Linked DNA regions of Homo sapiens: regions 2, 3 and 4 are each linked to region 1. The links are contacts of gene promoters, found by promoter capture Hi-C in blood cells and fetal thymus (Javierre and others, 2016). All regions are on one chromosome and are shown on one strand. Each heading gives the region's core, a stretch centred on a gene start or on the middle of the fragment in contact. The rest is flanking DNA. Distances are from core to core; before and after follow the strand shown.

What was found. The method cuts DNA at HindIII sites, captures the fragments that hold promoters and counts their contacts. A CHiCAGO score of 5 or more calls a contact.
Region 2: a contact is called between a fragment that was not itself captured here and the fragment with the promoter of CEP192 in region 1, in 3 of 17 cell types (erythroblasts, total B cells and naive B cells). The highest score is 6.1, in erythroblasts.
Region 3: a contact is called between a fragment that was not itself captured here and the fragment with the promoter of CEP192 in region 1, in 1 of 17 cell types (fetal thymus). The highest score is 5.1, in fetal thymus.
Region 4: a contact is called between a fragment that was not itself captured here and the fragment with the promoter of CEP192 in region 1, in 1 of 17 cell types (naive CD4 T cells). The highest score is 5.4, in naive CD4 T cells.

The regions. Positions count from the first base shown.
Region 1 is chr18:12,985,499-12,993,108 of GRCh38, forward strand. CEP192 (centrosomal protein 192) reads left to right here and starts at 5,864. Exons shown (of 45, transcript NM_032142.4): 1 at 5,864-5,939. It overlaps SEH1L (SEH1 like nucleoporin), which reads left to right. Exons shown (of 9, transcript NM_001013437.2): 9 at 1,364-2,033. The coding sequence ends at 1,559. RefSeq lists enhancers at 4,183-4,795, 5,186-5,565 and a silencer at 6,046-6,125. The HindIII fragment of the contact is 8,933 bases long and covers 2,116-7,610 here.
Region 2 is chr18:13,641,725-13,649,241 of GRCh38, forward strand. It overlaps LDLRAD4 (low density lipoprotein receptor class A domain containing 4), which reads left to right. Exons shown (of 7, transcript NM_001378100.1): 6 at 1,635-1,688; 7 at 3,403-7,517. The coding sequence ends at 3,933. Among named protein-coding and RNA genes, the nearest start is that of MIR4526, 34 kb to the left of the region's middle. RefSeq lists an enhancer at 7,334-7,517. The HindIII fragment of the contact is 1,192 bases long and covers 1,947-3,138 here.
Region 3 is chr18:13,622,688-13,629,244 of GRCh38, forward strand. All of the region lies in intron 5 of LDLRAD4 (low density lipoprotein receptor class A domain containing 4), which reads left to right. Among named protein-coding and RNA genes, the nearest start is that of MIR4526, 15 kb to the left of the region's middle. RefSeq lists enhancers at 523-1,022, 3,428-3,928. The HindIII fragment of the contact is 2,249 bases long and covers 2,809-5,057 here.
Region 4 is chr18:13,743,620-13,750,570 of GRCh38, forward strand. RNMT (RNA guanine-7 methyltransferase) reads left to right here. Exons shown (of 12, transcript NM_003799.3): 9 at 2,601-2,718. Among named protein-coding and RNA genes, the nearest start is that of RNMT, 20 kb to the left of the region's middle. The HindIII fragment of the contact is 922 bases long and covers 1,647-2,568 here.

The DNA of each region.
Region 1 (7,610 bases), core at 4,614-7,113:
ATTGTCACCAAAACAATTTTTTGAAATGTTCCTGAAACTAATTTGGGTTTAAAGATTAAAAGGGTTGTTACCATTCTTATCTGAGTAGTTGGGAGGAGGGGAATACCACTTTAGTTCATTTGGAAAATATAGACATATTTCTTTTGCTTTCTTAAAACAGCTTAAAATGATGAACTTTTATAATTTTAATTTGAAGATTGAATAAATATTTTTTATAAAGATTGTTTTGAGTGCTGATTTGTTTACTTTTTGTAGATTTGCTTTATCCATGATATTCAGTACAACTCTGTCATTTCTTTGTAATATTTAAAAAATATTAGTAAAGGAGTGAATTAATAAAGTAGTAATAGTAAAATGAAAGGAACTTGACTGTACAGTTTGTAGCCAGGTTAAGCATTTGGTATTGTTTCATTTACAATTTGGGACTAAGATGGAAACACTTTTTTTATAAGTTTTTAATTCATAGTCACTAAAGAGATAAATGTTTCTTATATACATTTGTGTATTTTTATGGTGTTATTTATTCCATGGCTTAGCTTCCTTCAAATCAAAATTTGGACACACACTATTAAGAGAAGCCATTAAAATTTTACTAAAATTGTGCATGTAAATTAATTGTCAGCATTCCATGTCTCAAGATTTTCTTAATTTAGTTCGCTGTTTAAATTAATTCATGTCCTGTAAAGTTCTGACCTTGATAACAAAGCTATAAATATTTAAGTTTGCTAATATGCGTAAGTATTATCGGTAAGTTACAAGATGGAAGAAGAATAACAGTAGGGCACAGTCATTCTGTGAATCCTTTTACTTATCAAAATTTGGTAGCTATTCTAAGGCTTTTGCAGAAAAATAAGTGTTCAATGTTTGTAGTTCTTCAAAAGCATGTTGCAGTAGCCAGCCATACTATGTGTATTCCCAGTATCATGTACGCACTAAAAAAAATGTGTGCTTGCTGCTGCTGTGAGTGAACCATTGCTTAAGATAAAAAACTTAACTAGATCTGTAAATGTACAGAATAGCATCAGATGTTTCTGAGAGATTAGAAAATGTTTTGAATTTATAAAATTAATGTTTTTCTTTGTAACATTTATATATATTTTTTAACATTTTAAGTTTAACAGATTGTATTCCTTTCAAGTTTCTATACTTGCTTAAGCAATCTTGATTTGAGTAAGGGTCTTGATTTGTGCTATTATGTTCTGTTAGTTTTGGCATGAATATACTAAAGCTTTTTTTTTTTTTTCTAGCATGTGTTTTCTCCTCTTTGGTTCTCTTTGTATTTACTACTTTTCTCTTTTTCTTGTGTTTTTTTTTTCCTGTTTTTGTTTTGTTTGGTGTTTTGTTCCTGTCTTCATTGTTTCAGGTATTTCTTTACCCCTCTGGATTCCCCACGGGCTGGATCGAGATGGTCCAGTTATGCCCAGCTCCTTCCTCCTCCTCCTCCTCCTCTGGTAGAGCACTCTTGCGATGCTGACACTGCCAACCTCCAGTATCCTCACCCTCGCAGACGATATCTCTCTCGGCCTCTTAATCCCTTACCTGAGAATGAAGGGATTTAAAACACTGATTTAACATTGAAAGGCCTTATTCAAGTGCTTGTAAATGCTTTCATTTCTGGCTGCTTTTTGTTTTTCATTTTCTTTCAGAAGATTTTTCTAACTTAGGGTCTGTCTTGCATGTATTACAACCAGAATACAGTGTTTGGAACCTAAATCTGTTTGTGCGTCTGCATCAAAGGAACATTTGCTTCACTGGGTGATAACCTTTGATGAAATGAGATATGTCCAAGTAACGTTAACTGTGAAGTTACACACAGTAGCTGACTTCAAAGTGCCTGTTCTGTAAATTTTATTTTAAACTGTTACCATAGTCTTAAGTTGTTTATGCTTTATCAGACTGGCTAATGTGAAAGCATAATATTATGAAGTTTATTCTGCCTTATGAGACCTTAAAAAATGGATTTCATTTTACAGGCTAATGTTGTAACTGACTAGTATGTAAAATAAATCATTCCTGTGTATAAAGCAGCAAAACCTAATGTGGACTTTTTGGTCTTTTTTTTTTTTTTTTTTTTTTAAAGGAAATTGCCTTTCACTACTTGGAATTACTGTTTAAAGCTTTTGTAATTATTATCCAAGTAGGTTATGTAATAAAATATATTTAAAAATATACGAATCTCTTGCCTTATAAAAACAGAATGTATTTTATTTAAGATAATTGCCAAGGCTTACTCTTCTTTCACTATCTCACAAAAAACCCAAACAAAAATTAGGAGATGTGAGCAAATATTACATTTATTTAAAAGGTAGAAAGTCAGTATGTAGACTACTAACATTTAGAATGGACAGATGTTGACTTTCAGTCTAATTAGTCAACATTAGAATATTTTCTAGAATATTTTAAAATGAGAATGTACTTGATTATAATTGTGGTAAAATGATTAAAACTAGTAATATGCTTGTTGGTTCAGTTTTGTCAGGAATTGTCAAGGGTTTAACCTCTTATCAGGGCTAGAGAGAGAGGTGTTTTGAACAGTATTTCATGTAACAGATTACATGAAATATCAGGTAATCACATAGGTGACATAGTTATTATAACTATTCTAATTTTCAAAGACGCCTTTCCTTGAATAGTGTCATAGCTCTAGTACTTCTTAATATGCAAAGGATTAAGAGCTGATAGAAAGATTCTGTTCATTTTATTTTATTTTTTATTTTTTAAGACAGTGTCTCACCCTGTTGCCCAGGCTAGAGTGTAGTGGCATGATCATGGCTCACTGCAGCCTTGAACTTCCGGGCTCAAGCGATCCCCCCACCTCAGTCTCTTGAGTAGCTGGGACTGCTGGTGCACGCCACCATGCCCTGGCTATTTTTTTAAAATTTTTTTTTAGTGAGGGGTCTCACTTTTTGCCCAGGCTGGTCTCAAACTCCTAGGCTCAATCCATCATCCCACCTTGGCCTCCCAAAGTGCTGGGATTACAGGCATGAGTCACCTCACCTAGCCTATTCATTTTAGTTTAAGGAACATTTGAGTTTTATTGTCTAATAATCAAAGTGTTTTGTCTCTAAAGTTAGCATTTCAATGTAAATATCTTTTTCAAATAATTCTCAAAGGTCTTCCTCTGGTTAAATGACTTGCTAGGCTTGTAGCCTTATGGAGGATCAAACAAGAAGTCTTAATGCTGAATCTAACCCAGAATTAAGAAGCCATGTCTTTGAGCTTTCAGACATAGAGGTACCTTGGGTAAGAATGGAATAATGAAATTGAGACCATTCTCCAGTTTAATTTAGTGAATCCTGAGCATCTACCATGTGCAAGATACTGTGCCAAACACTGGGGTATGTAGAAAAATAGGTAGTCTGCACACAAACTTACACTCGTGGGAGAAGGCATTTTTAGAATTTACAAAAGGTAATGGGTTCAGCTTTGTAATAATGGTAGAAATTGTATAGTAGGCATAAAAGAGACAAGTTATTTGAGCTGGCAGAATTTGGAAGGGATGTCTGATTTCAATAGGTAAAAGAGGGCCGGGGTGTGTTTACGGAATAGGATATAAGTAACAGTCTGATGAAAGAGTAGGGTTCATTTAGGGAACTACTGGGACATTAACCTGAAATCATACCTTGTGGTTACATTGTAGAAGGTTTTGAGTATTGGCTGAGGCATACCACTTTAAGCAGTTGGTAAAAGGGGAGCTGAGAGATGTCTGAACTTAAAACTGGATAGGCCTCACTTCTAATTCCCTGGGAGGCACCCTGGTCATGGGGCCTCTGCAGGCTCTACTCAGTGTCTAAAGAGATTTGGAAATCACAGTGGGAGTTCTGTTCCTCCTTTCCAGTTGGCAAGTGAGGTGAGATACTGAGGTATAAGATAATAGCTAATGTTTGTTGAGTATTTCCATGGGCCATTATTTTTCTAGATACCTTACAGAAGTAGCTTTAAATCCTCACAGTAAGCCTCTGAGGCAAGCGCTTTAATTATCCCCACTTTACAGACAAGGAAACCGGCTGGTTAAAGCTACTTGCCCAAGGCTACACAGTTTGGAAGAGGGAGGTAGAGCCAGGATTCAGATCCAGGCAGCCTGGCGTCAGAGTCCAGGCTCTCCTGCTGCCGAGACTCTGAATCAGAGATCTCTGTTAATAGAGTCCTATCAGGTTACTGAGTGTTGTGGGGAGTGCTGTGGTGACTTGAGGATATTTATGGAGGAAGGACATTTATTAACAAGGATCTGGTGTGAGTGACAGTCCGGAACCTGTAGACACATTTAAGCAGTTCACCTCCAATGTGTGACCGCTTTGTAGAAAAAGAGGTTAAGAGAGGTCAGCTCTAGGGCTGAGCATTTGGCTTACTTTTTTGGGATTCAGAAAATCTTGAGATTTTCTGCATTTATCTTTGCTCACTGAGTGTGGACAAAGGTAGAATAAAGGTAATTACTCTTTGCAAATACCAAGGCTGCAGGGTTCCAAGAAGAGGTGTCGAACTGTGGAGATATCACTGAGTTTGACAATTAGGAGTCTATTCCTGATAAAGTTTTAAGGACCCAGCTAGACACCATGAAATGCGTCAAAATAAGGTGTAAAAAGTGGAAGCCTGGCTTCCTCTATGGAAAAAAAAGTGGAGACCATTAAGGGAAGGAAACAAGAATGGTCATTAGGTGATGAAACAGAATCAAGGAAGGGGTGTGTGTGGGTGTGTGGTTTGAGTGGTGTTTGTGTGTGGAGGGTGTGTGTGGTGTGTGGGTGATGTGTATGTGGGTGTGTGTTGTGTATGGATGTGTGTATACGTGTCACACACGTGTGTGTGGTGCATATGTGGGTGTGTGTGGTTTGTGGTGTGAGTGGTGTGTGTGGTGTATGGGTGTGTGGTGTGTGTGTTTGGGTAGAGAGGTGCTGCATTTTTGTAGGCAGAGAGAAGGAAACCAGTGGAGAGGATATCCAAGAATGACAGGTGAGCCATGTTTGCAGGAGGTAGAAAGTGGTCAAGTAAACAGACGTCTTTCCCCACCAAGTAACCTCAGGTCTAGGGACTTCTAAACTTTGCGTTTTCCCTCTTCTTTCCTCCAAGGTGCGCCGGACATCTTTCAGTAACTTGAACGAAGTTAAGGAGTTAGCTTTGGAAAAGAGGGACTCTTTTCCCTCTGTGACTATATGGAATAAATTTTGAGATAAGGGACCTTACTGAAAAAGACTGAGATACATTTTGAGTGAAAGGCATGGTCTCAGTGAAGTAGTTAAGGGCCTGTGCCGAGCAGATGGCGGTGATGGGTTTTGTGGCCTAAGAAGGATGGAGAAAAGTAGGAAGCAATCGAGACAAAGCCTACTCTGTCACAAAGAGGCGACTAGATGTGGCGAAATGTCATGAAACTTGGATCCCGAGGAATTAGCTGATTGAAGGTGAAACCTGACGCCTTTCAGCGCCTACCAACAGGAAAGGTCTGCATCTGCCCACGGAAGGACGAAACCTATCGGGGGGGATTTGTTGGCGGGGGATACTTCTTTGCGCATAGAGTGACTGGCGGTGCCCTGGAGACCCAAACTGAATAAAGTAAGCATTATTTTCAAATTCGCCAAGACCTTGAAGGCGGCGCCAACGGGAGCCGTCCCCCGGGTCCCACGCAGCGCAGAGCTCCATTTCCTCCTCCGGACTCGCAGGGCGCGCGGCTTCCTCGCTTCAAATCCAGGAACGCGCTGTCCCCACCAATCACCGGGCTTCTTCCCGCCCCATGTCTTCCCGCTGTCCAATCAAAAGCCAGCTCAGTCTCCTCCCCTTGCCTGGTGCCGCGAACAGACGTAAACCAGAGGCGGGCGCGGTACGGCCGTTCCGGGCTCCAGCCGGTGCGGGGGCCACGCGCACGCGCACTTGCAGTGCCCTGGGACACCTCTTCAGTCCGTGGACTTTCCCGCTGCACACTGCCCTCCGAAGTCGGGGACGCGGGCTCGGTGAGGGGGGACGCTGGTGCCTCGGCCTGCGCCTAGGCGGGAGGCAGACGCATGCACCTTTGGCCTACGTTTCGGCTGCCGGACCGACGGGACAGTGACGGTTGGGCCGGGTGGGGGCGCAGGCTGTGGGGCGGCCTCAGGGCGCGAGCAAGGGGACTGCCGCGCTTCCCGCGCCTCTGCGCCTGGCGCAGCCTCTGAGCTGAGCTCCGCCTGGTTGGGATTAATTGCACGCCTCTGTGTCATCGGGCTTTGGCCGGGCGTGATGAGACAGACTGTTAGGGGATCACGTCCTTCTTTCCTCCCCTCTTGTCTGGGGACTTCCACCTCTTGAGGGACAGGCCCTCTCCGTGCTACCCTCTGGAGTTTCTTGCAGTGTGCTTGTGAAGTGACCGGTGATGTTTCCTTTATGTGCCCTGTGATGGGCGGTTCTGTTCCTCCTTTTTGTTTAAAATTCTGACCCAGGAAGTAACCTTGTTAACTTAACTTAATGCCCTTGTCTTCCGTTTACTCACTTGATTTGGTTTCTGCTAGGTTGCGTTCATTTATTCCTAATAGTTTACCTACATTCCTTGCCTATGATTTCATTATCAACAGAACGTGAAATGAGACGAATGTTAATACACTCTACTTTTACTTTGCTGTTACTTTCAGAGTTTGTTTAGTAAAACATGAGGACCTCTTCAAGTCAGTCGTTTGGAGAACAGCTGTTTATATGACCATATTTCCATTTGCTCTTACTATTTTGAGGTCATTCGACTGGCGTTTTTACTGCTCCAAAATCAACTTTTTCTCCAAATTTCAGTTTTCTAGGCAAAAACGGCAAGCCTTGAACAATAATATACCAAATGCCTACCTAGTTTTAAAGTATATCTTAAAGTGCCAAGAGTAAATGATGAGTTTTGGGGAAGTTTGACTCGGCTTTGGGTTCCACGGCGTGTGCTTTTAAATGTGTTTAATTGTATACATAGACCTACGATTAATGACTATAGTCAGTAATCTTTTATGTACCTAGGAATGTAATTAGTGAGTCCAGATGTGAAATTTGAGGTCACTACTTTAAGGAAATAGCAAGAGAAATTGCAAATATAGCCACTCAGTTCAAATAGGATAGAAGAAAAATATTGTCTTCACTTGAGATGATGGAGGAGGGGTGGGTAATGCAATAATGTGAGAAATTAAAGGAAATTTCCTTTAGGAATGTGTTATGTCCATGAATGGTTTACAAGTGTAATCTTTTCTGGAGAAGAGACTAGGTATTAGGTTACATCTTGAGGAATCTTCCCGTGGGTTTTGTTACCTTTGCACCCTTAGCAAAGCTCTGTTGAAGCACTTAACACTATCGTAGTTGACAGGGATTGTCAGCTCCCTGAGGGGAGCTGCCTTATTTATCTTTGCATTCTTGGTGCCAAGTAGAGGGTTCTTCATGGTTTGTGTTTGATAATGAATGTTGCATGAATGACCTTTGCATAATTTCTGAGTTTTCTTTGGATTAGGCCCTTCTAAATAGGGACAACTGTTGAAGAGTTTTCTATAAATTTTAATAGTTTACATGTCTGTATATGAATGAATAACTTAGTAATTACAAGGCTAGACTTGGGGAGGCTAGTTGGGAGACTCGTGTGATAGTTCAGAATAAAAAGTGATGGGCAACGGGCATTAGGAATATAGAAG
Region 2 (7,517 bases), core at 1,293-3,792, 650 kb after region 1:
GGCAAGGGGAGCGGGGCGCTGGGTCAGCCGAGGGCCGGGCCTCGGGGGCGCAGCCGGACTGGACGGCGGCTCCTGTGGGCACTTGGCCGGGTTTGCTGGTTTTTCGGGAAATAAGGCCACTGGGGACAGTCACTACGTTTTCAGGAACCGCTCAGCCCCTCTGAGTGCCCCGCAGATGGACCTGGCGGCGTTCCTGGCTACGGCTGACTGGGCTCCCGGAGCGAGGAGCGCCCCTGCGGGCCCAGCCTGGGCCCTGGGCGGTGGGAGGGCCTCCGCCCCCTTCCCGCTTCCGCCCCGCTGGCGCCGGACCCCCGCCCTCGTCTGTGCCTGCCAGGCCGGGCCCTTCCCTCCCGTCACAGGCGGTCCCTGAGCCCACCCTTCGTCTCCGAGCAGCTGGACCGCCGTATACGTTTGCCACTGATTCCAGGATGTCCCCGAGTATCTTAGGAAAGGGCCGTGTTGGACAAACGCGGGGCTCGGTGTTTCTTCCGCGCCGTCCCTCGCTGCTGGCGCCGGGGCCGTCGGAGGCTCAGTGATGGCCCAGCCCGCCCGTTTCCGAGAATTCCCCAAACGCGGGCCCCTACACGCTGAGTTCGCGCTCTCCCGTGACGGCCGACAGCCCCGCGGACCCTGCTGACAGCCACACTCTGGGCTGAAAAGGGTACCACGCGTACTTTTTTTCCCAGCACGCGTGGGGCCTTGGAAAGAACCTTTACTGAGGCCTGTGGCTGGCCTGTCACCTTGTCAATCTGGCCAAACGTTTTTGAAAAAGGATGCTAACTCACCAGATGTGAAGTTGCATCTGCCCTGTGAATAGGTGGACTGGAGAAGACACTCGCTGGAGGATCCTGAGCCCAGGCTCGGAAAGGGCCGTCCACCTGCGAGCGCGGACTTGCGCCTCTGCTGGAGGCCGGGCAGGGCACGGGCGGGCCCCGGGCCACCTCTGCCAGGGCTTCCTCAACCCAGCCTGCCCTCATCGGGCGGCCACTGAATGCGGTTGGACAGTCATCTTGAATGTATTTCAAGCACACAGGTGTAGAGAGTGAGCCATATTCCACTTCAAATCTAATCTGGCCAGGAGTTCAACTTTTCCATGTTTCCTTTTGTTCACAGCCCTCCATGTAGACAAGAGGTCTGAAAAGGGACGGGCTCTTTCTCGCTCCACGTTTTTTGTTTGTTTGTTTGTTTGTTTATCTATTTTTTGTTTTTTTTTTTTCTTCTGTTTTTTTGATACGGAGTCTCACTCTGTCGCCCAGGCTGGAGTGCAGTGGCAAGATCTCGGCTCACTGCAACCTCCGCGTCCCAGGTTTAAGCGATTCTCCTGCCTCACCCTCCCGAGTAGCTGGGATTACAGGCACCCGCCACCACGCCCAACTAATGTTTGTATTTTTAGTAGAGACGGGGTTTCACCATGTTGGCCAGGCTGGTCTCGAACTCCTGACCTCGTGATCCATCCGCCTCTGCCTCCCAAAGTGCTGGGATTACAGGCTTGAGCCATGGCGCCCGGCCTCGCTCCACGTTTTATGCAGATCCCCGTTTCCAGAAGTTGTGCTTCATGTTTTTAGGTGCGGCGGGGCTAATGATTTTCCTCTGTTTCTTGTTCCCCCCACTCTCCTCCCCTTCCCCTCCGCCAGGAAGGGTGCCTGTGGCCTTCAGACAGCGCCGCACCGCGGCTGGGCGCCTCGGAGGTAAGGGGCCCCAGGAGGTGATGGCTGCGGGGGGCGGGGGGGGTGGGTGGGGATGAAGGGGGCGTGTCCCTGCCACGTGGGGTGGAAGGGGAGGGGCCTCACCACGTGGGCTGACACTTTTGGAGGAAGGCATTGCCTAGAACTTTGGTCAAAAGCGGGAGGGGACTTCCCCTAGAATCTTCCAGGGATTATTCCTGCTAGTCTAAAGCTCCTTATCAAAAACAATTTGAGAATCACTTATCTTTACATGATCCCGTAAGCTTCTACTAATGTGCCTTGGCAAGTGGGCATGGTTTATAAATATCATAGCATGATTCATTCCCACATCTCCAAGTGTAATAATGTGGATTTTAAAATAACATGTTTTTGCCTTTAAGTTAAAAATATTGGTGTGAGAGAAATCAATATCTGTATGTACGTGTGTAGATATGTGTGTATATTAAATGCATGTATATACACATATATGTATACACACATACACATCTATGCATATATGCGTGTGTGTGTGTATGTACGTATATAAAAGAGCCGTCTCCTAGAAGAAACTGGGATGGTAGAACAAATGAGAAGATTTTGTAAGAAATGTACTACCTGGATTCATTTTGAAAAAATAAATTATTATAATCATATTTATTTGAGTAAAAAATATTTTTCATGTCAGTGACTAAAAATAACTACAGGAAACTTTTATTCAGATTCCAGATAACTGGAAAAGTCTAGGAGCCACAAAGAAAAAACAGTCATTTTGGGGGGAATTTGTTAAAAAGTAATTGGCAATGATCTTCTCTAAGTAATTAATAAATCGACCCAATGCTTTGTATCTGCTCCACGTACCACTGTGTGAAGTTATAACTTCTGCTTACTCAGAGTTCTGGCCGGCGCAGTAGCTCATGACTGTAATCCTAGCACTTTAGGAAGCTGAGGTGGGTGGGTCACTTAAGCTCAGGAGTTCAAGACAAGCCTATGCAACATGACAAAACCCCATCTCAAAAAAAAAAAAAAAAAAAAAGCTAGGCATGGTGGTGTGCACCTGTAGTCTCAGCTACTCAGGAGGTTGAGGTGGGAGAATCACTTGAGCCCAGAAGGTTAAGGTTGCAATAAGCCAAGATGGCGCCACTGCACTCCAGCCTAGGTGACAGAGCCAGACCCTGTCTCAAAAAAAAAAAAAATTAAGATAAAAAATTAAATAAAAATAAAAACTCGGAGCCCCTCCTTACTTTTCTGAACCATAGGTTCTAAGTTCTAGAGCTGGCAGGGACCTGAGAAAGCAGGCAGCCCTGTCCTGTCCTCGTAAGTTATAGAGAAGCCGAGGACTGGACGATGTCACTGGTGACCAGATCCAAGTGCAGGCCGCAGTGCTCTTCGCCCTGTGACTCTTGGAGTTCCTAGTGTGTTCTGTTTCCAAGGGGAAAATGCACACGTAGCACGCACAGAAACTCCCAGGAGCCCAAGCTTTCCATTACCCACAGCTCTCCATTGCTCAGCCCTCCTGGATGCGCTGGGATTTGGCAAGGTGAGTGGTCTGTCATAAGGAATCAGAAAAGTACACTTTTTTTTCTGGAATTGGATTTTCCTGTTTTCTTTTTTTTTTTCCTGGGAGATGGTGTTCAAACTGGTAGGAACACACACCAAGCGTAACTTTCCTTGATTCTGACACATTTATGGTCATCATTGCGCTCAAACTGTCTTCAAGCCTCTCCTCTTTTCCTTCCAGATCATGCATGCCCCGCGGTCCAGGGACAGGTTCACAGCGCCGTCCTTCATCCAGAGGGATCGCTTCAGCCGCTTCCAGCCCACCTACCCCTATGTGCAGCACGAGATTGATCTTCCTCCCACCATCTCCCTGTCCGACGGTGAAGAGCCACCTCCTTACCAGGGGCCCTGCACCCTGCAGCTCCGGGACCCTGAACAGCAGATGGAACTCAACCGAGAGTCCGTGAGGGCCCCACCCAACCGAACCATATTTGACAGTGATTTAATAGACATTGCTATGTATAGCGGGGGTCCATGCCCACCCAGCAGCAACTCGGGCATCAGTGCAAGCACCTGCAGCAGTAACGGGAGGATGGAGGGGCCACCCCCCACATACAGCGAGGTGATGGGCCACCACCCAGGCGCCTCTTTCCTCCATCACCAGCGCAGCAACGCACACAGGGGCAGCAGACTGCAGTTTCAGCAGAACAATGCAGAGAGCACAATAGTACCCATCAAAGGCAAAGATAGGAAGCCTGGGAACCTGGTCTGATTCCTTCCAACGTGCACTTCAGCTGGAGAAAGAAACCAAGAAGGGAAGCGGCCGCTGGGCCCCTCCTGCGCACAGTGTTGTTCAGTTTCACATGGTACAAATAAGTAAAACCAAATGAGCAAACACGGTCTTTGTTTCTGATTCCTTTTAGGGGAATTGCATGCAAACTAGACTGAAATGATACAAACTTCCATCTGGTCTGACCGCAAACAGTGTTTATTTGGGGACAGGGGTTGGGATGGGGGTGTGGGCAGGGGAAAACAGAGAACGGGATGCTTTGAAGATACCATGAAATAAAACCCACAGAGGTATTTGATGTATTTAATTGTGAAAGGAGACTTTGCAGATAAATGAGGCCAGAATGGCATGTTTTATAATTAACTGAATAAAGAAGGAAGCATTATTATATATTATTGTGGGGAAGAACCAGCCAGTTCGCTTTTTCTCCTAAGGTGTGGAACTTTTATTTTGTTTTAAAAATATGAATCAAAATTCCTGTGTTGTGTGCCAAGGTATAAAGTGGAGAAGTTAGATGAGTGCAAGGAGCTCCTTTGTGTTGTGATGATGTGTTTTAAAAGTTGCACTATCTTAATGTTGAAAATATTTACAAGGGAACTGTTTTACGTGAAGTTCTGTATGTTGTCTTTTCACCTGTGGATTGTAATCAGGCCCAAGGAATATCCTGGAGTGGTCCCCAGAAGCATCCAAGAAAAGATATTTGGGGACGTAGCCTAACATTTTACCAACTTACGTAAATCAAAAAAGTCATTATTGTTGCAGGAGTTTGCATCAAATAGCAGTGCATCGCTGAAGCTTTTGGAGACTTTTGGATGGAAGATAAGATAGGGAAGATTAAGTTCCAGCATTTCTGACTTGTTATTTTGAGTTACTCTGCTACTCTTAGGCTGCATAGTTTATGAGAAAATGAACACATGCATTTATGGATCCAGTATCATGCAGTGCTGCCCTCATCCTCCAGCAGTGCAATTTCTTCAGTAATTTAGATTTTTTTCACTATAGCATGAAATATATTCAAATACATACCTTATTTTATGCAATAAATTGTTTAAAATGCAAGGTGGTTATTCTGCATACTGTTGAAATATGTGACTCCTCAGTATATTCCCATTGCCTCTCCCCCTTTCCTCGACAGCTTAGTTCAGTTCTGCAGGGCTGCTCAGTTCACAGGAGGCTCCCAGCAGCCACCCCACATCCAGCCTACACAGAACTTCGTGTGGGAGTGGTGTGGGTGGTGGTTTCTTATGCTTTGGAAGCCCCTAGAAATAATGACGGAAGAATGCCATGTTGCTGATCGTGGTAATAAGCCATTGTGGGTTATTGTATGTCACTAGTATTAGCATAGCATTCTTAAAGGAATGCAGTGCTCAAAACCTACCCAAATTCCCGCAGGATTCTACCAAACCCTTCCCCAGGCCAGCTTTTGTACTGAAGGCAAGAACTGGACAGTCAGAGAACAGTGGAGGGGGCAAGTGACTGAAGAGCACCGGGTAAAAAGCACAACATGCAGTTAAAATGCAACTAGAAAACTAATTTTAAATATTGTTAGTTTTAATATTCCTGATATTTACAAATATTCATTCTTATATACAATGAAAAAAATAACTTTCTTCTGCAGATGTAAGCACTGGCTTTTATAAGAGCAGCAGCCAACACGTTTAGCAGACACTGCGCGTGGAGAAGGGCTTATCTGCAGTACACTCTGCCATGTGGAGGGTGGGCCTCTGTGGCCTCTTCACATAACAAGATGAGCTGGAATGATGATTCCATGACTCCCACCTATGCAGCCTTAAAGCCAAATCCGCGTGTGTGTGTTTGTGTCTGTCTGTGGGTCTCGAAGGTGATCCGTCGGTGCGGTGGCTCTGTGCTGTAACTGGAGAGACTGTTCCAAACCCCAAGAGTTGTCTGATCCTAGTCTGTTCCCTTCTGCTTCTTACCTCTGTAGATAGGTCACTGGTTTTTGTTTGTTTGTTTTGAGGATTGGAATTTCCATTACATTCATCCTTTGCACACAGTAACATCCACAGAACTAGTCCAACTCTTAAAAGGAGAGAGGAAAAACACAGGCACCAGTTGTCAGCTCATGCTTACAACCTGTGTGGAAGTATATACAGTTGAGAGTCACAGTGGAGGTTCTGAGACTGGATTCAGTCTTGTTCCAGTGACAGTTGGAAGGCCTCTGCTGGAGAGACACCAGCTCTCAGGGCAGAGATTGGCTTGGGGCCAGAAGGACCCTCCCCAACCCTGGAGACACCCTGAAGGTTCACTGGCTCTCCAGATTAGCCTCTCTTCCTCTGTCAGGCAAAGATGAGGAGCCCGTGTTCCCATCGGGCCCTGCTGGCAGGGACTTGCAGTGGATTCTTGGTCAGGTGTGCCCACAGATGCGGAGGCGAGGTGAGTGATTCCATCATTTCAGTTCTCACCTGCAGTTTTGGTGAAGCAGGAGATGCACCCCACAGCTCTAGCTCTCAAATGGCTTCACAGTCCTTACTTCTCTACCTGCCTCAAGAAGGGGCTCAGAGCAGAGACTTGTGAATTCCTTAGTAACTGTGAGTATATGAATGTGTTGCACATGTCCACAGTATTGGCGAGATAATTACATAATTCAGATACCTTTAATCATCTTTCAAGAAAGAGGCTCCTCCCATTCAACCACCCTAGAGAACTGCCTTTGTTAAATAGTTATTTAAAGACTCATACATATCAAACCATGACTTTGAAAGGTCTTCGAGGCTGGGGCTCTGTAATGAATTAGTTTAAAAGCCAAGGTCATAACATGAATTGATGGTCAATTTCCCTTCAGCAGAAGGAAAAGGTGATTTAGATCAGTAGCTCTTTTGAAGGTTGTGGCTGACCTGTTCATACCGTGTCGCCTCATGGCTAGTGTGGCGTTGAAAGAGTAGCGACTGGGAAGATACAACTTACACAGTGGGGCCTATTGTTCTTTCAAGAACCCTTTTTTTAGCTTATAGAACCCATGGGTCCAGTTTAGTAACGAGTGATTTAGGCAATCAATGATAGGTTTATAATCTTAGATTATTCCAGCAAAGTGTGGATTGCATTGTTAGGAAGAACATTTGGTGGGAATGAACACTCCTGGGCATACCGCTGACTTTTGTCCCTTGTTCCCGGTGTAGGAGACCCAAGGCATCTTGAATCCCATCTATAAGAACACAATCTTCCAGCATACGTTTGCTTTTTCAGAAACTCTAGCATTCTCTTTAAATACTGACGCAATCCTTAATGGAAAAGAGATTTCATGAAGCAAATTATGTATTTCAATAGTTCTTCTATTTTTAGTGTCCAAAATTTACTAATACAGAAGCTTGACAAGCATGTCCTCACCCTCCCCACCACATAAACACATGGACACACACCCAAGCCACAAGAAATCCCAAGAGAGCAGAAGCGAATTTTTAAAAGATTTATCGTGAGGACTGCATTTCCATTCACTAATTTTGGCTCAAACTTATGAGGCAGGAAATAGGGGCCAACAGTAAATGGGGGAGGCCTCCTGACACCAGCAGAGGAATTTTGTACCCAGGCGAGGACTTCTTGAACTTCTG
Region 3 (6,557 bases), core at 2,683-5,182, 640 kb after region 1:
GAAGTTCTAAACACACAGTGTATGGGATTCACCTGTGTTTTGAGAGAGGACAGGGAGAAAATCTCATCACAGCAGCAGTTTCAGAACCGCAGAAGGCTCAGACATCGCTGCTTTGCCTTAATGTATTACGGGCTGTGAACGCCACCCCTGGACTTGGTGGAAACAAGCACAGCCTTCCTTGGCCTTCTCTCCAGGAGCTCCAGAACGCTTGGGGTCTCTGTGCGCAGGCACACAGGGAGTTTTCTGTCCCCTGCCTGGGCGCTCCCCAGTCTTCCTCCCAGACTTGCCCTGGTGTTGGCTTCTCTCTCCCTAGTGTGGGTCAGGCAGCTCCTTGCTCTGTTCCTGGTGCAGACCCAGCCCCGCTTGCTGTCCCTGTTCATAGCACCTTGTGTCCTGAACACCAGCACACTGGCCACACCCTTACCAACCAAGAGGCCCAGCAGAAAAGCAAAAAGTGTCAAAAAAGTGTCTTCTGTGTCATGTGGCGGCAGATTTGTGTGATGCCCTTTCCCGGGAAGCGCTGGCTGCCCCACCTGCAGAGCCTCCCTTCCCTGAAATCAGGAAGGTGACAGAGCGATGTTCAGAGGTCCCTTCAGGGCTGCACACTGCGTGGCAGGTGAAGACATTCGGCAGCCAGTGAATTGTGTCCACACAGTGGTCCACATCCCTGTCTGGGCCTCGTTTTGTTAATGTGCACATACAGTGTTCCCCCTGAGAGCTCCGTTCTGGAGCTGAGCTGGGGCTTGCAGAGATCCGGCTGCACCGAGCTATTTCTCCTTTTTTTCTGAGTAACCTGGAACTGGGAGCTGTCCCTCCTCGAGGTGTGGCTGTTCCTCCTACGGCTTCAGCGTAGCTTAGCAAAGGACTCTGTGTGATGTTTCATAAAACACAAGATGCATTCCAGCACGATGACCAGAGGCAGCTCGGCCCAGGCCCTTGCTCCACTTCCCGATCTGGTGTATTAGCCCAGTTGATGGTTCCCCAAAAGAGAAAAGAGTGGCAGCTGATGAGGAAGAAACCTCCATTCTCTCCTGGACACAGACTCAGGCCTTGCTAATACTATGGGTGTGGCCATGCTATCCATTTCCCTCTCTCTGCCCTGAGGGTCCCCTAACCCAGGTCCTCTCCACCCAGGAATGCCCCCACGCAGCCAGGCTTCCTGCCTCCTAATTCCCTACTTCTAACTTCTTTTAAGAAATGCCTGTTCCCCGTATACAGTATTAGGGGAGCGATCTGATTCATTTACACTCAGCTCAGGAGTCTCGATCAGGGCTGATTCTGCCAAATGTCTAGGGGACATTTGCAGTGTCTGGCATCATAAGGGGGAATCCTACAATGTGTCCTACAGTACGCGGGCGGCCCTGCAACAAAGACTCATCTGTACAGTGCGTCCTACAGTGCACAGGCAGTCCCGCAACAAAGACTCATCTGAGTGGATGTGAGCGGTGCTGAGGCGGAGGAGCCGGCCCCACCAGGTGCTGAGCACTGCCGGACCCACCAGGTGCTGAGCACTGCCGGACCCAGGGGCACTTCACTGTAAAAGAGGCTGCCTGTTACCATGAGGGGGTCTCTCTAGGCTGGCTCTGAGGCATCCACAGAGCGGAGAGCTCTTCCCAGCAGTACGAGTTTGGGGTCTGGTCTGGGACTCTGCCTTGGGAACAGTTTCCCCAGTGACTCCTGCCTCCTCTGCTCATCCAGCCATTCAGTGGACACTCCGCAGGAGCCAGGCACTGAGTAGGAGGGGGAAACAGTGGCCATGCCCCGCCTCCGCCACCAGCAGCACCTGCAGTCCCCTGGCGGAGGCCAAGACCCCGCTGCCATTCTCTCCATCTTCCTAGGGGAGGCTAGGGGTCTGGCTGGCCGATTGTGCCTTTGGGATGGGGGAGTGTCAGGCGTGGGAGCTGTAGGAGGTGTTTGGGGCAGGTATGAGGACCTGTGTCTCCTCCGTCCCCATGCCTGGCCTGGCCCATGTGCAGTTGGCGAGGGCAGTTCCAAGTTCCCCGCCTTCCCCATCCCTAGGTGACCACCTGTGTCAGGAAGCCCCCTCCCAAGGGGCTTGGAAGGGGCTGGGAAGGCACGGCTGGCTGGTCAGCATGGCAGGGAGGGCCCTGTGCCCCCTGGCAGAGCCTGGCAGTCCTCTGTCTCCTGGGCTCCCTGTGCTGCTGTGCAGGCCTGTGCTCCAGGGCAAGGCGGCTGGGGAGGATGAGTGTGTCTGGGCAGATGCTGCCATCCTCATGGCTTCTTTCCAGTTATCAGGGCCCCTGCAAGCCCCTAAGCACCTCTTCCTTTCTCAGCACCAATGTCCGAGGCCTTTCTCCTGCAGCACCCGAGGCCCTGGGAGTCCAGGCCCTGGCGGCGGCTCAGCACCCTCCAGTCAGCAGCTGGGGTTGGATGCTCCTCCTGTCCCCTCTGTGGAGCGCAGCCTCATTAGGAGCCTGTGCATTGTTGGGGAGCCTCCTGTGAGGGCCTGTTTGTAGAGACCCACCCCAGGGCTCCATGAGCACATTAGAAAATGATGTTCTATTTAAACCTGGTGTGAGAAGTGCTGGGCATTGAATTAACCAACTTCTAGGTGATTAGGCTTCACACTCTGATTAAACTTACTGTTACGTCTTTCTGCTGGAAGCCTGGAGAGTGGAGGTGGAAACATAGCTTGGGGCAATAGGATGGGAGTGAGTTTTGGTTTGGAGGAGGAGGATGAGCAGGCCAGCAGCCTTACTTGGCTGAGGAAGCTTCCCGCCCTGCTATGAGCGGCCCCTCGCCTCCTCTACAGGTTTTCCACTTTGACCACAAGGAAGGGCCAGACCAAGCTTAACCAGACAGCATCACTGTGGCCCTGGCTTCTCTGCTTCTTGCGGAGAGTCCCGTTCTGAGAAGTGGTGACTGCCCCGCTGCCTTCTCTGGCCCCTTCCTGAGGGAGTGCCCAGCTCAGCCAGTTCTGGTCCCTGTCCCATAGGGTGTGCTCCTGTGCAGGTGCAGGTGAGGAGCCGCAGCCGGCGCCCTCCTCCCCCCGCCAGAGGCCTCCTCCCCCTGCCAGCACCCTCCTCCCCCCACCAGAGCCCTCCTCCCCCTGCCACCACCCTCCTCCCCCCGCCAGCACCCTCCTCCCCTCAGCCGGCGCCCTCCTCCCCCCGCCAGAGCCCTCCTCCCCCCACCAGAGCCCTCCTCCCTCCACCAGCAACCTCCTCCCCTCTACCAGCATCCTCCTGACACTGGCACCTTCCTCCCATGTCCCTTGGCCTGGGACAGTGCATGCTGCATGAACGTGATGGGTGTCCCAAAGCCAGTCAACCTTTGTCGCCATGCGGTAGACACTGTGTGTCCCAGGGGGGCCCAAGGAATGGATGTTACTGGGCCTGAATGTGGTGGAAGTAGTGATTTCTGGATGAAAATGAAAACTAGCAACTCAGGTGTGAATTACATCACAGACAAAGCAAATGCTTACATCATAGCAGATAGCAGCGGCGGGTCCGGATCTGCATCCTTGTGCATTCTTGCTGAGGTAGCCTGAGCTTGGTTTCTTTGGAGCCTGGTTTGTGTGACTTCTGAGCATTGAGACTGTCTAGATTTCTTTTCATTATCTTAGACCATTCAGTAATGGGAAAGCAGTAAAGGGGCATGAATATTCTAGACACAGCCCGGAGAGCTATTTGAACAAGTTGCTGGAACATTTCTTGCTGGAGCTGAGGGAGCCCAGGTGACCTTTTCTGACTGCCAGCAGCCTGGCCCAGAGGGTCCAGCCTGGCCTGTGTGGACAGCCCAGGGGTAGGGGATGGCATGCAGGCAGAAGGGTCTGGCCATCAGCGGATGGAGGGAGAGGCAGGAGAGGGACAGGGACCTTTACCCAGATTGAAGCATATGAAATTGTTAACATTCAGCCATTTTGACCTATAGAAACAGCAATTTCAATTTAAAAAATTAACAAAAGGAATCACATCACACATCTCTTCATTATCAACTCCTACAGGGATTAAATCGATTGTGAAAATCCAGGTGCCCATTCTTCATAGCCAGGAGGAGCAGCCAGGCCCCACCCAGCACAGCTGGGCTCCTCCAGCTCCCTGGGGTTGACACTGGGAGGGGCCCTGGCTGTTGCGGAGGAGGACAAGCACTTGGTGGCTGTCAGCCCTCTTGATGCAGAAACTCATGCTCCTCAGATCCACAGTGCCCTGACATGGGGTGAGCTCTCCCCACAAGTCCCTCTCTGCAGAAGCCACAGAGTTAGCCTAGAGCATGGCTGTGTACCTGGTTTGCCCCACAGGGTGTTCGAACCTAAGTTGATCTAGCTTTTAAAAATTGGGGCTGGGTGCGGTGGCTCACGCCTATAATCTCAGCACTTTGGGAGGCCGAGGTGGGCAGATCACTTGAGGTCAGGAGTTTGAGACCAGCCCAGCCAACATGGTGAAACCTTGTCTCTACTCAAAAATACAAAAGTTAGCCAGGTGTGGTGGCACGTGCCTGTAATCCCAGCTACTTGGGAGGCTGAAGCAAGAGAATCTGGAGGCAGAGGTTGCAGTGAGCTGAGATCACGCCATTGCACTCCAGCCTGGCCGACAGAGGGAGACGCCATCTCAAAAATAAAAAAATAAAAAATAAAAATTGTGAGATTTCACATGAAAATTGGAGTTTCCATCTTCTCTTGAAAAAGCAGCCTATGGGGCCACACCCTGAGGCTGGGGCTGTGAGGTGGCTGCCATGGAGTGGGCCTGTGCTGCCCGGGCTGTCACCTGTCTCTCGCTGGGGACCCTTCAGTGCCGGGCAGCAGCATTGCCATCTGTGGGTTTGCACGTGGGGGTTGTTTTTCAGAGAAAATTTTCTTCTGCACTCAGGCTTCTATTGCAAGGCTGAAGACCAAGATAGACTGAGAGGGCCACTGGTTCCCAGAAAAATGGGTGAGAAGGTCCTTGTGGAAGTAAATACTGTTCCTGCCTGGTTAGGAGTTGAGACACGTGTCTGGGTCAACAGTGCTGTGCGTGTCCTGTGCCCAGCCTGACATGGTCACTCGTGGCCACTGCTGTCCAGTCATCTCCCCAGGCAAGGCCCTCCTCTGTGACTAAAGCTTATAGCCAGAGGGACAGAGGTGGCCATGGGCTCCCCGCTCTCTGAGGCTCGGCCCTGCACCAGCAGCCTCTCTGCTGGCCTTGGGAGCAGCGGTGGCCAGAGGGCAGACGGTCCTGGGCAGGTGTCTGACAGCCAGGAGCCCGCTGTGCTGGGGCTCAGAACTCACAGTGAGGGGACCTCTGGGTGTGCCATATGTGACGAGTGCCTTTCTCTACCTGGGCAGTGTCCCTCTACCCTCCCCTGCAGATAGAGGCTCTGAGGTGGGCCCCAGGCTCAGGGGTGTTTGAGAAACCCACAGGCAGTGTCCTGGGATCCCTCGGAGGGCACAGGGAGCAGGGGTTTCAGCGCCACACTGTTCATTCCCACTGCGGCTGGAGCGCTGGCTCGCTGTGCCCTGCTGCTCTCACTCCTGCCCACCTCATACGTTTAGAAAAGCATGTGGAAAACGATGGAAAGGAATGATTTTCAGTAAGGCTTGAAGGAGTGGACTAAAGGGCTTACTGATGCAGTTGTACTCGGTCTGCCTCTGACACTCCAGACTAAAGAAAAGAGCCACAGGCTTCCTCTGGCATCATTGTGGGGATGAACCGCAGGGGACCGTTTCCCTGCAGGCAAGGCAGACCCTGCTGCACCACAGACCAGATGTGTGTGTTTGTCGGTTGTCCAGTGACAGCTCTCCGTTACTGCATTTCACGGAAACTGCATTTCCAAGAGCTTAGGGTCCGGCGGGTTGGCCGCAGCATGTCTGTCTGAGTGAGCAAGGACTTCCAATTATCAGGCTGCCCAGGTGGTCATTTGAAAGGTTTTGCCCTTTGCTATGTCTAATTGAAGCATTAGAGGATAGACAATTTCACATCACCTCAAAATGAGAACATCTCCCTTCAATTAAGGGAAACAGGAGGCCAAGCGGCCCGGCAGAAACTGCATAAGGATGCTGGACCCCAGCTGCACGCAGATTCCCACCTGAACCACAGTGGGCAGAGCTTTGGAAGAGTCAATGCTTATCTTTAAAGTGACAGTGTCTCAAATAGTCCTTCTACTGATGTTGGCACTGCTCAGAATGTTTGGGAATTACCTTCAGGTTTTGGGGTTATTTTTAAGTGACAAGATCTCACTTTGTTGCGCAGGCTGGAGTATAGTGGCATGATCATAACTCACTGCAGCCTCGAACATTTAGGCTCAACTGATCCCCCTGCCTCAGCCTCCTGCGTAGCTGTGACTATAGGCACGCGCAACCATGCCTGGCTAATTTTTAAATTTTTTGTAGAGACAAGATCTCACTGTGTTGCCCAGGCTGGTCTTGAACTCCTTGCCTCAAACGATCTTCCCACTTCAGCCTCCCAAAGTGCTAGGATTACAGGCCTGAGCCACTGCACCTGACTGGGTTGTTTTTATTTGTTTGTTTGTTTTTTTAATCAAGGGAAATTTTTTAAAAGCTTCTCCACAATGGCAAATCTTCCTTTGCAAAGAGCAAATAGTTTTGCTCTTGGGGATAG
Region 4 (6,951 bases), core at 858-3,357, 750 kb after region 1:
GGTGGGGAGAGTATAAAAGTCAGCTTAAATGTAGGCCATGTCATGATTGATTGAACTTGATTTTCTACTTTTTAGAAACAAAAATCTTTTGTTTTGAATATTAACTGAGAAAAAGAAGAGGTATATTGTCTGCTTACTTCTGCTTGGTGCTTATTTTAATTGTAACTCAGTCAGTCTGTAAAATTAGGGTTACAGTATTTTCAGGAGTTCTATAATAGCTTATTCAATAATATAAGAAAGCCAAGTAGCATTGTGACTGAACATGAGGAAAATACTGTGCATAATTTTATAAATATAAACCATTTACAAAATTTAAAAATATCAATTACATTTTCCTTTTAATTTTTAAAACTAATAAACTGGGGAAATGTTACTGCTCTTCAACTTTATTTAAAAAAGAACTTAATTGTGGAATGTTATTGAGTATGTTTAATATGTTAGCTTGAGATTTTAGTTAACAGTTTGGTGATTTTAGTATAATCAAAAAGATAATAAAACAAAAGATTTGTTTTAAATGCTAAACAAGACCTAGCGGTCTTCTTTTTTTTTTTTTTTTTTTTTTTTTTGACTTAAATTGCCTAATGATGGTAAACCTAAGTCATCAGTTTAATATCTAATTTTTTAAAAGATTATTTATTGAAACAGTATTGGATGAAATAGAATCTGAAAATGTGTGGGGGTTTTGAGATGCCTTTTTGCCATTTCATTAAGAAATTTAACAGAAATAAGCTTTTTGTGTGGCAAAACTTATTCAAATTGGGCCTCAATTCTTTGAATCATGATTTTTTTAGGTGTAAAACTTGGTTTCATTTCTAAAGGGTTATTTTAGAGATTTACAAACGAAAATGAACTGCCTGGAATAAAAAACTTGGTTTCATTTCTAAAGGCTTATTTTAGAGATTTACAAAAGAAAATGAACTGCCTGGAATAAAAAACTTGGTTTCATTTCTAAAGGCTTATTTTAGAGATTTACAAAAGAAAATGAACTGCCTGGAATAAAAGACTTAATTTTGCTCATGTTGCCTTTCCAAGGAGGATTAATTGAAGTAACAGAATCCTGCCTTACGTATACCTCTTACATAGAAACCTCAGTGGCCCTCCAGTGTTTGCCCTTACCCTATCCCCTCAAATGCCACCCTGTACACGAGCCTTCCCACCTAATTTTCAGGGTTTCTCCCCTTCCTTCCACTCTTCCTTTAACTGCTGCCTGAAGTCATCTCCAGGCTCCCTCTTGTTGTCTACAGATACATGATTATAAACTTGGCAAATGCAGTGAGGAAAAAAACTACCTGAGAGTCTAACGGAGAGACCTAATATAATTAAGATTTAAGGAAGGTGCCTGTAAAGAATCGATGTTTGAGTCAGGATCTAAAGGATGGAAAAGTAGGTGGGCAGCTGAGGACTGGAGGGAAGAATGCTCCTGACAAGAGGACAGCGTGTGTGAGGGCCCAGCAGTGGGAAAGCTAGGCTAGTCCAAGATGTTGAAAGAAGGCCCATCCTGATTTATATCGGGGGCTGTCCCAAAATGAGGCAGCATTCCTTTACAGATGAATGTCTTCGAGACCATGTTCTGTATCCTAAGTGCACTGGAGCCCAGTGGAGGGTGTTAAGGGGGTAGTGACATGACTCAGGTCCGCATTTCTGAAAGCTTAATCTGGCTGCGATTGGAAAATTCATTGAGGGAGAGTAAGAATGGAAGCAGGGGACAAGCAAAGTGAGTTTATGGACTGGTGCCACTGAGTGGTGATGGTGACTGAAGCAGCAGGATGGTGCCAAATGCAGGAGGTAAGAAGTGGACCTATTTGAAATTGATGTTTTCTAGGTAAAATAGAAAGGACTTAGTGATGTGTATTGAGCACAGTGGGTAAAAGAGAAGGGGAGATGGCATGGATCACTAGGTGGATTTACTGAAATGGCAAAGATTGGCAGTAAAAGAGCAGTGATGTTCAGCCTTAGATGTGGGACGTTAGAGAGTGCCAGTGACACATGCAGGTGAAGATTTCTAATAAGCAGTAGAATCCATGAGTGATGAGAGACAGCTGAACTACCGATAGCTGGGGGGTGGAAGTGAGTAGGGCTCTGGACTGTACTCTACAGAACCTTGAAGTTTAGAAGTTGGGTAAAAAAAAACCTGTAAGTGAAAAGGAAAAAAAAAAAACCTGCAAAGAAGCAGTTCATGATGTAGGGGAAAAATTAATAGTGTATCTTGCCAGAGAAGTCGAGATGAAAGTGAATCTTTAAGAAGGAAGTTGGCAGCTGTTTGCAGTGCAGCTGTGAGAGATCAAGTAAAGTGAAATGGAATCAGTAGAAAAGAGTTTCCTACACTTTTTCCGCATCTCACAGCTCCGGAGACTCTCATTTACTTCCTGACCTTTATGTTATACTAATAGAGCCCTCTGAAACCCCTGAGATTTAGAATGCATGTTTCTTTTAGGTGTGATATGTTACTCTTGATTCATTTTGTATTACTGTATTGTGAATTTATCAAGGGAGTGGTAGCTTTTTTAGTTAAGTCCAGAAGATGTCATTGCTGTACAAAAGTAAGTTGAGGAATTACAAACATGTGGAAGCTTTTTCATTAAGTATTCTTTTTTGGACAGAATGGCAAAGAAGTACAATATGAAACTAGTCTACAAAAAAACATTTCTGGAATTCTACGAAGAAAAGATTAAGAACAATGAAAATAAAATGCTCTTAAAACGAATGCAGGCCTTGGAGGTGAGTATTTAGAAAAGATGTACAAATTTCAGTCATGGTGAACTTGTTTGGCTGTTCTTGAGATCCTTGCAAGGCCATCTGAACATGAAATAGTTATGTGTATTACGCTCTTCAGCACCTAGGACGGAGCTTGATACAGAAACTGCATGGTGAGTGCTCAGTAAATACTTGATGAAAGAATGAGTACTGGTGTTACCAAATTCTGTTTTCTAGGATAGTACTGCTTTAAAATAGGATTTCTCAGCCTCAGGACTGTTGACATTTTGTTCTGGATAATGCCTTGCTGTGGGATGCTGTGCATTGTAGGATATTCAGTAGCATTCCTGGCTTCTACGCACTAGATGCCTTCCAGTAACACTCTTGTCCCCAGTTACGATAACCAGAAAACTCTCTCCAGACATTGCCAAATGTCCCCTGGTGGACAAAATTGCCCCAAGTTGAGAACCAGTTCTTTACAACAGTGCCTTTTGGTTACGACAGTAATTTAGAACCTTCCTGGCCAGTGTCCAGACAAGCTCAAACCATACATAATTTTATTGCATGGTAATTCTTTAGCAGGGTTCCAGTCTTTTAGACTGTGTTGTTGCTGAGACCTCTCCTGTCCTAATGCAGCAGTGAAGGTATCTATATAAGCTTCAATTACACAGCCATTGATTGTTTTTCCTTTTTCTCCTTACCAGACAATGTTTGGTTGGACAGACCTAAAATATTCAGTGAGCATTTTTATTATTGATCAGTAGAATCATATTCATCAAATGGACATTAAACTTCCTTAGAGAGTTTATTCAGTTTAAGTACTTTAAGCATACTCTGACTTCTTTATCCTTATAATTACCTCCATGAAGTAGGCAGAATGGTAACTTTTCACTAATTTTTTTCCTATTTTTTTTTTTTTGTTGTTAATGACAGGATCTCGCTCTGTTGCCCAGGCTGGAGTGCAGTGATGTGATCACAGCTCACTGAGGCCTTCACCTTCTGGAAGGTGATCCTCCCACCTGAGCCTCCTGAGTAACTGACTACAAGCGTGTGTCACCACACCTGTCTCAGTTTTAAACTTTTTGTGCTGATGAAGTTTTGCTGTGTTGCGCAGGCTGGTCTCAAACTCCTGGCCTCATCAAGCAATCCTCCCGCCTTGGCCTCCCAAAGTACTGGGATTACAGGTGTGAGCCACTGCACCTGGCCAGTTTTCACATTTTTTTAGTGGGCAGCCTGAGGCTCAGAGGATAATGACTTGCTCAAGGCATACTAACCTTTAGATTTTCTTCAGTTTTTGTAGATGATACTCAAACAGAAGTCTCCTGTTGAAGTTGCACCTGCACCCAGCCACTCCCACAATGTTGAGTGGGAGGACTTTTTATAAATTCTAAATTGTCTTTTAAGAGACATAATCAGTAAAATTTCATATTCCTCATTAGTTATATTTCCTATACTTTAGATCTAAGAATGTTTTTATTGGCTTTATATTAGGAATGGATGCTTGTTTTGTTTGTCTTAAGGAAGAGGAGAAAACTAGCAAAACTATGTGTGGATAAGTCCCCCTGTCCCACATATACAGCATATCTTTAGCATATTGCCTTTATTTGATGGTGCTTTGCATGATAGTGGTCAATTATTTAGCCTTTCTCTTAGCATATGGGTAGTGAATTCACTTGTGTAATGTATGTCAAAATCTACTTAGGTATGGTAGGGTATGGGATAACAAGAATTTTATGGCATGTTATTTCAGTGAATAATGCAGTCCATGATGGGAACTGCAGTATTGAAGCATTCCAAGTGCAGTGAGTATATAAAGGGCCTTTTGGGAAGGAAGAAGATTGGTAGAGGACAGGCAGAGAAACCAGAGTGCACAGGAGATGTTTGAGGAAGTAGTGCTAATGGCCTTCACAGTTCTTCAGCAGTCTTCCTTCTCTCCCAGTACTGCACTTGGGGATATGACCTGTTACCATGGCTGTCTGGGGACAGAAGCAGTAATAGCATGTAGTTTGAAAAATCCTTTGGTTTTCCTACTTCTTGACCAAGTCACTCTGGTGGGCGTGTAAAGGACTTGGAGCAGGAAAGGACATGACCAGATAAGAGTTAGGACACTACTTGGGTGGCATAATGGGGGATGGTTTGGAGGGACTTTGAGACCAGACCAGAGGTGGAAAGAGCAGTCGGATGCCACTGCTTTCGACCAGGTCAGAGGTTTAAATGGATCTGTTTCTTGATATTTGTCCCAAAAAGTCTTTTCCTGAAGCATCCAGCTTTTATCTGGGTTCAGCACTAGAACCAGTACAACTTTTCTGCTTTCCTGGAGCGTTGGAACAGAGAGAAGAAAGAATGAAAAGATGTAGGCCATGGAACTGTAGGTCCTGACACCTGTTTTCTTTTTTTCACCAGCAAACATATTCTAGGGACAGTTCTGGAAAAGTAACTCCTTTTAGAGGAGACACTAAGATATATATGTTTTAATAAGTTTTGGTCCCGGCATGGTGGCTCATGCCTGTAACCCCAGCACTTTGGGAGGCCAAGGCGGGCAGATAACCTGAGGTCAGGAGTTGTAGAGCAGCCTGGCCAACATGGTAAAACCCCGTCTCTACTAAAAATACAAAATTAGCCAGGTGTGGTGGTGCATACTTGTAATCCCAGCTACTCAGGAGGCTGAGGCAGGAGAATCACTTGAACCCGGGAGGTGGAGGTTGCAGTGAGCGAAGATCACGCCACTGCACTCCAGCCTGGGTGACGAAACTGAAACTCCATCTCAAAAAATAAAATCAATTTTAAAAAATAACGATGTTTTACAGCTTTATAATCATGTATTGGTTGGTCTTTCAAAATGATCAGTAGAGAAGAGAAACTGGGTGTCCAGTGATAAGCAGATAATCACATGGAGGATAAGTTGAAGAACAAGTTTACAACAAAATAGTTTGACAGGCATTCAAAAACGAAGTTCTGAAGCTTTGTGATATGGTAAAACTACAATATGTGGAATTAAAGTTCAAAAAAAACTGATTGGTAATCTGTTCTTTCTTAGAGCCCTTTGTTGGGATGTGATACAAAGTAAAGTGGTTTATGCTAATGATACAGCAGTCTCAAATAGCTGAGTACTTCTAAAACAGCAAATAAATAGGTTAATTTCTAATGCCTAAACTTGCTGCAGGATGTTTATAAAGAAAAGAGACAAAGAAGATTGCAAAGCAGATATTCATAGATCATTTTCTTAAAAGTTTATTAGGGAGTTGTACGTTTAAAGTGCCTCCTTTCTAGCTGGTTTGTTGCAATAAGACAAAGAATTATAAAGAATTATAAATGAATTATTAAAAACATAAACTTTGTAGAGTAGATGGTTCTATTAAATGTTTTATGTAATTTATTATGTTTTGATTTGCATGTATCTGGTTTGTTTTTTGGTGAGAGAGTTGGGGAGACAGAGTCTCGCTCTGTCATCCAAGCTGGAGTGCACTGACACCATCTTGGCATCTTGGCACACTGCAACCCCTTCCCCCCGACCCTTCTCCCCCAGCCTCACCTAAACCCGGCCTAAGTGATCCTTTCACCTCCCCCTTCTGAGTAGCTGGGACTACAGGCACGTGCCACCACACCTGGCTACTTTTTGTATTTTACGTAGAGACAGGATGTTGAAATGTTGCCCAGGCTAGTCTCGAACCCCTGAGCTCAAGTGATCTGCCTTCCTCGGTCTCCCAAAGTGCTGGGGTTACAGCATGAGCTACCGAGCCAGGCCTGATTTACATGTATTAAAAGGCAAAATGCAGATACTATAAAGGGATATCACTTAAAATGAATTAAAAATGGCACTTGAAGTAACTTGGATAAACATTTGGCCAGCATACCCTTAAAAACACAGCATGTTTTTCTGACCCTTTTCCAGAGTCTTAGGTAAATATGGGAAATGTCTGTATTTTGGAGGCTGGATTATTAAACAGCGTTCTATGTTGTCTTGACTTTTTCATTTGTATTATTTGTAATTGCTATTTATGCTTTTCATGGCTATTAAATTGCCATCATTTTAATATTTAGCTCTTTTTATGACATCTTTAAGCTTTGTATTTATATATAAAGCCTTTGGCTAACAGTAGAGAAGGTGCAAGTGTTTGCTGCTAAATGGTTCTTGGTGGTGATTAAATTATGTAGCTTCTTTCAGCTGTGAATATCCTAAGATTATGATAAAAGTTGACCATAAGGCTGGATGTGGTGGTTCACACCTGTGATCTCAGCGCTTTGGGAGGCTGAGGT